Regions from separate parts of the Homo sapiens genome. Here region 1 is linked to region 2. Evidence: promoter capture Hi-C in 16 types of primary human blood cells and fetal thymus (Javierre and others, 2016). All regions are on one chromosome and are shown on one strand. Each heading gives the region's core, a stretch centred on a gene start or on the middle of the fragment in contact. The rest is flanking DNA. Distances are from core to core; before and after follow the strand shown.

What was found. Contacts are between HindIII fragments. The CHiCAGO score rates a contact against its expected background, and 5 or more counts as called.
Region 1: a contact is called between a fragment that was not itself captured here and the fragment with the promoter of PDE3A in region 2, in 1 of 17 cell types (M2 macrophages). The highest score is 6.3, in M2 macrophages.

What each region holds. Positions count from the first base shown.
Region 1 is chr12:18,146,101-18,148,800 of GRCh38, reverse strand. No RefSeq gene overlaps it. Among named protein-coding and RNA genes, the nearest start is that of RERGL, 57 kb to the right of the region's middle. The HindIII fragment of the contact is 4,588 bases long and covers 1-2,700 here.
Region 2 is chr12:20,367,114-20,369,813 of GRCh38, reverse strand. It overlaps PDE3A (phosphodiesterase 3A), which reads right to left and starts at 1,277. Exons shown (of 16, transcript NM_000921.5): 1 at 1-1,277. The coding sequence starts at 529. The region is part of intron 1 of PDE3A-AS1 (PDE3A antisense RNA 1); the gene reads left to right. RefSeq lists a silencer at 1-239. The HindIII fragment of the contact is 3,200 bases long and covers 1-1,535 here.

The DNA of each region.
Region 1 (2,700 bases), core at 88-2,587, 2.2 Mb after region 2:
ATTTTAATTTTCTTAAATAAATTGATAAATACCACTTGTTTATATTTGTTGTGTGTGTATGCACACAAACACACACATACTTATGTTGTGTTTTTTATTTCCCAGTTCTATTTTTTAAATTCCTCACTTTCTTTTGTTTTATAAATTTGTTTGGACAGAATATGTATTCTTACTCTCTTTCTCATGCTTCTGTTGTTTTAGAAGTGATAGAGTATTTGTCTATTACAATACTTAGCTTTAAGTGTGGAACATACATATATAACTAAGTTCTTTAACACAACTTAAAATCTTGCAACATTATTCTCTCCCATCTTTAAAAGACAAGAAACGTCAGCCCTTTAACTCTGAACCATTCCCCTCCCAGTAGTACTAATTACAATCTTAGTTTTATCATTTATATTTTTTAGTTTCCAATTAGCTATGCTATGATTCATAAATCAATAACTAATTCAATTTGCCATTTTACATCATAATATTCATATGACTACTCCTATCTATCTTGGCTGTTTTCTTCTTGTATAAGTATATATATATATACATATATATATATATATATATTTTTTTTTTTTTTTTTTTTTTTTGAGACGGAGTCTTGCTCTGTCACCCAGGCTAGAGTGCAGTGGCATGATCTCGGCTCACTGCAACCTCCGCCTCCTGGGTTCAAGCGATTCTCCTGCATCAGCTTCCTGAGTAGGTGGGACTACAAGTGCGTGCCATCATGCCTTGCTGATTTTCTGTATTTTTAGTAGAGATGAGGCTTCACTGTGTTAGCCAGGATGGTCTCGATTTCCCGACCTCGTGATCTGCCCGCCTTGGCCTCCCAAAGTGCAGGGATTAAAGGCATGAAGCACCGTGCCCGGCCAAGCATATATTTTAATAAGCCTTTCAGTGTGAATTTGGGGACTATGAATTTTCTCATTTTTTAATACCTGAAAATATCTTTATCAGTCTTCTTGAATGTTAGTGTGGCCAAAAATAGAAATTTCAGTGGAAAGTTATTTTTCTTTGGCACATTAAGAACATCATACTTTTGTCTTCCAGTATTTTTTATTGCTGATAAGTATATTGAAAGTCTAATTGTCTCTAATTTCTTTTCAGCGATCTGACTTTCTTCTCTATCTACATTTATAATTGATTATCTTTAATTTCTGATGAATGTAAGTTTTCTGTCAAGACTCAAGTATTTCACTGAGCTTTTGTTTCTTTAAATGATTTCCTACCATTCGGCCACGCTTCTTGGATTCCTGTTAGAGTTGAAGACTCTCAATTTATTCTTTATGTCTCTTAGCTGCTCCTTTATATTTTAAAAATTTACTTGTCTCTCATTACTGCACACCAAGAAAATTCCTCATTGTCTTCTATTAATTATTTGATTTTGTTCACATCTCTTCTATTGAATGTTTTTCTTCTAGAGATAATGTGTTGATTTTTTAGATATTCTCTCTATTCACTTTTTATATCATTTTTAATTGCCCTTTTTCACTTTTGGAGTTGATTCTTTAATGATTCTTTTATTTAGCTTTCTACAGACTGAACATACTTGCTCCTGTTTTTATCTTTTAAAACACTTTGGTTGTTTTCATTTTATCTGGTGTGAAAGCAGCTTTCAAGTGTTAGTGTTTTGGATCATTATTCTCATTGTTAGATTTGATTATTTATTTTGGAATTTTTAATTTCAGGCTCAGTGGAGTAGGACTTTTCACTTTCTGTAAACTGTGCATATCTTTTAGCTTTTTGGTTGACTGCACTCAATTGTTTAGGAATTCTAGTGCAGAATGAAATCTTAGATTAGCAATTCTGATTTCCTGTCCAACAGTGATACTAGAAAACTTTGCATCTTCATATAATTTTCAGTAGCAGCAGAACATGGCAATTTTATCTGGCTTCATTTCATAAGAAATAATTTAAGGAATTGCATGGCTTGAAATAATGAGCTCAGTTCCCACCCTTGTCTTGCACTTCTTTTGTTTTTTGACTACCTGATATCTTTATAATTTTTAACTTTTTATAATTTATCCATTACTGTTACATGTATGGTAGTGTCTTGGAGTATAATATACAGTTAACTTGACTGAAAGTGCATGCTGCCTAATGTTTCATTGTTGTTTGAAGATATAGTGGAGTCATAATTTACATGGATGTTAGGTCCTAAAAAACAGCATGCGTTTTCATGAGTTACATGCAATTACAATTCAATGCCATTCTACGTATTGTGTAATATTGGAAGGGACTTCCTTATTTATCTTTGTATCACCAGTGCATAGCTGGTGTTGAGCCAATGAAGCAATAATTTTTTTTTTATTTGCAACGTTCTCTTTTGTTTCTCCTAATATAGGCAGAAGTTGACATTCTTTTACTTGAAAAGTAAATATTTCATTTTTTAAACCTGTGGGAATAAATTTTCTCTTTCCTAAAGATAGTGATAGTTTCTCATAACATGGAGACTATGAATTATTGTTTTAGATAGGCGATAATTTTGAGTAAAAAGTATTGTAAGTGCTAAATATTTTTCTATGCAAAATATAGCATGTGACAATGGAGAAAGTTAATTAACTATTTTTGAGATTTTCCAGGGGAGACTCTTGAACTAAGTTTAGAAAGACGCGTTTATAACTTCCAGGCAGAGAGAACAAAATTTGCCAAGGCAGGAAGTTATGAAATAGCATTACAAATTTGAGCAATGTACTTCTGACTTTGATA
Region 2 (2,700 bases), core at 28-2,527:
CAATCTGGACGAGCGCTTCCCCCCCGCAGCAGGCGGCCAGCAGCGCGACAGCCAGAGGCAGGCGCACCCCGGCGCGCAGGAGGTACAAGCCCATCCAGAAGAAGGCACACAGGAGACTGAAGAGCAGCGCCGAGGGCTGCAGCCAGGGGCTGAGCCGCGCACCGCCCCCGGGAGCACCTCCCCGAGGCCCCGGGAAGACGCCCCCTTCTGCTCCCGGGGCTGCTTCCTCCTCCTCCGCCGCCGCCGCCTCCTTACACTGCTCCAGGTCACAGCCGACCTCCCCGCGGACCAGCCTCACCAGCAGCGCCAGCAGAAAGGACAGGGAGCCCGCGCACAGCGCGGAGGAAAGTTTCCGAGAGCTCCGGAGCGGCTGCAGCACCAGGTCTCCCCAGCAGCCACGGCAGCCCGAGTCCCGCGGCGATGCGGGGTCCGCACGATGGTGGCAGTCCCGGCCCGCCGTGGGGGCTTGACTCACCCCACTGTGGACGGGCTTGTCCCTGACTCGTGCAGCGTCGCCGGGCACTGCCATGGTATAGGGTGCCCTCTTCACTGAATTCCCAGTGGCCCCCCGACGCCCCCGCCCCGACCCACGCGCGCGCGCGCACACACACACACACACACACGCACGCACGCTCTTCCCAATTCCACCCTCGGAATCCTTCTTCTCCCCAGGCCCACAATCCACTGAAAGTTTCAGCTTTCGAATAACTCCTGGAGAATGCTAGATGCTCCAATGAGACTTCTTCAAGTTAAAGGCTAGCACGCTCAAGTTGAAAACAAGCACGGGCAGAAACGATCAGGATTCCCCTTTTCTCTCTTTGAATATCTTTCACAGATTCTCTGCTCCACCCCCACCCCCGACTTATATCCTCCGGGGTCTCTTCCTACTTCAGGATTTCAAAAATTGCCCAATGCATCCCGCGCGCAGGAGCCGCTGACGCTGGAGGAGCCGGGGGCGCAGGGCGGGCTCCGGGCCATTCCGAGGCGCAGCTCGGCGCTGCGCTGCGCTGCAGCGCGCCGGGCCCGCGGCAGATGGAGGTCTCCCTTCTCCTCCTTCCTGCAGCTCTTTTTCTATCACTCTTTCTTTCTCCTCGGCCGATTCTCCCCGGCACGGCCCCAGGACGCGAATCGCCATTCCCTGGGGCAGAAAGCAAAGCCTCCCCCGCCTCTGTCAATCCAATTCATGGCAAAGGATGGAAAAAAAAAAATGGACAAGGGGCTGAGAAATAAGAAGTTGCTAAGTCCCGTCGGAGAGAGAGCCAGACCGAGAGACTAGCGGCAGCCGCAGAAGGGAGGGAGGGAGAAGGAGCGAGTAAGAGAGGAAGGGAGGGTGAGAAGAAAGGGAGGGTGAGAAGGGAGAAGGAGATTTGCTTTTTTTTTCCCTCCCCACTTCTATTTGATGCAAGGTTGGTGGTGATTTGCAGTTTTGCAAAGGGGAAACGAGTGGCGACGACTGCTTAAAATTGTATAAAACTGGCAACTGGAGTGATCGACAATTCCGCTTTCTTTCTTTAAGGCAACTCCCTAGGAAAGCTTTCTCAGCCGAGCTCCCGCCCCCTCCTGCGGAGGAGGCGCTACCCTCAGCTCGATTGCTCCTTTGCTGGGAAAGCGGCCGGTTCACCCTACAGGCTGGAGCAGGGGCTGCTGAGGCTGATCCACCGCGCAGCCCACCGCAGCCCCGGGGTGTGGGGGGCTGCGGCTAGCCCTGAGGCTGAGCTCCCTAGAACGTTGGAAGGAAAAAAAAAAAAAAAAGATTGTGTTTGCCTACTTGGCAGATGAGAGCCAACATACTTTCTACTGTCCCTGAAAATGACAGCCACTTCTACTGTCTGATTCAAAGATGTTCCCAAGTCAGGTACAACAGCAGTCCAATTTCAGGTGACAGTGTCATCCTTTGGTCGCTCCTGCTGGAAGGTCTGCTTTATGAGAACCCAAGCCTGGCCTGTTGGTTCAAATGATGGAAGAATCAGCCTTACCTAGACCACAATAGTATAAAAAGAAAGGAAGGAGAGGCAGCAGTCATTTAAATCCAGTGCATGAGTATTACACAATAGTTTTTGACTGTGGAAAGTAAAATTACATTGAGATTAAGTGACCGTATCCTCAAAAAAGGTTAACAAAGTTTAAAAGCCCAGATAGTTCATCAAAAAATAAAGAAAAATCTCAAGGGAGAGGTGAGGATAGGTGGGTTAACACTAGGAGAGATCTTAGAAGACTGTCTATGGCTGCAAAATACTACATCTTCGAGCAAAGCATATGAAAAAAATCAGGACCTTAGTTATTAATGAGTAAAGGTTCGTGTACTGCAGCAGTGTGATATTTGAGAAACTAAAAGAAAATTTTCAAGCTAACCTTTTTTTGGCAGATTATGAAAAAGAATTCAGTATCTGTTCAATGGACTTAAACTCTATTGATGTTCCCTGGGATCTAGTTGTCTTTTTAATATGATACTCCACTTTTAACATGGCTATCTTAGATGTCATTTGCCCTCACTAATAATAATCTTAATAATCCAATTTTGTCTTAATTATCTTGACATTCCAGGTTAAAGTGTATTTACAGCCTAGAGCATTTAGATAATTGATTCAATATGCCACTGTATTTTGTATGTAGACATGAAGCAATAAAAAAAGCCAAAAGGAGATCCTTGAGATAAAATTAATTTATGGGGACAGGGGGAGAAGATGACTTAAGTTTTAA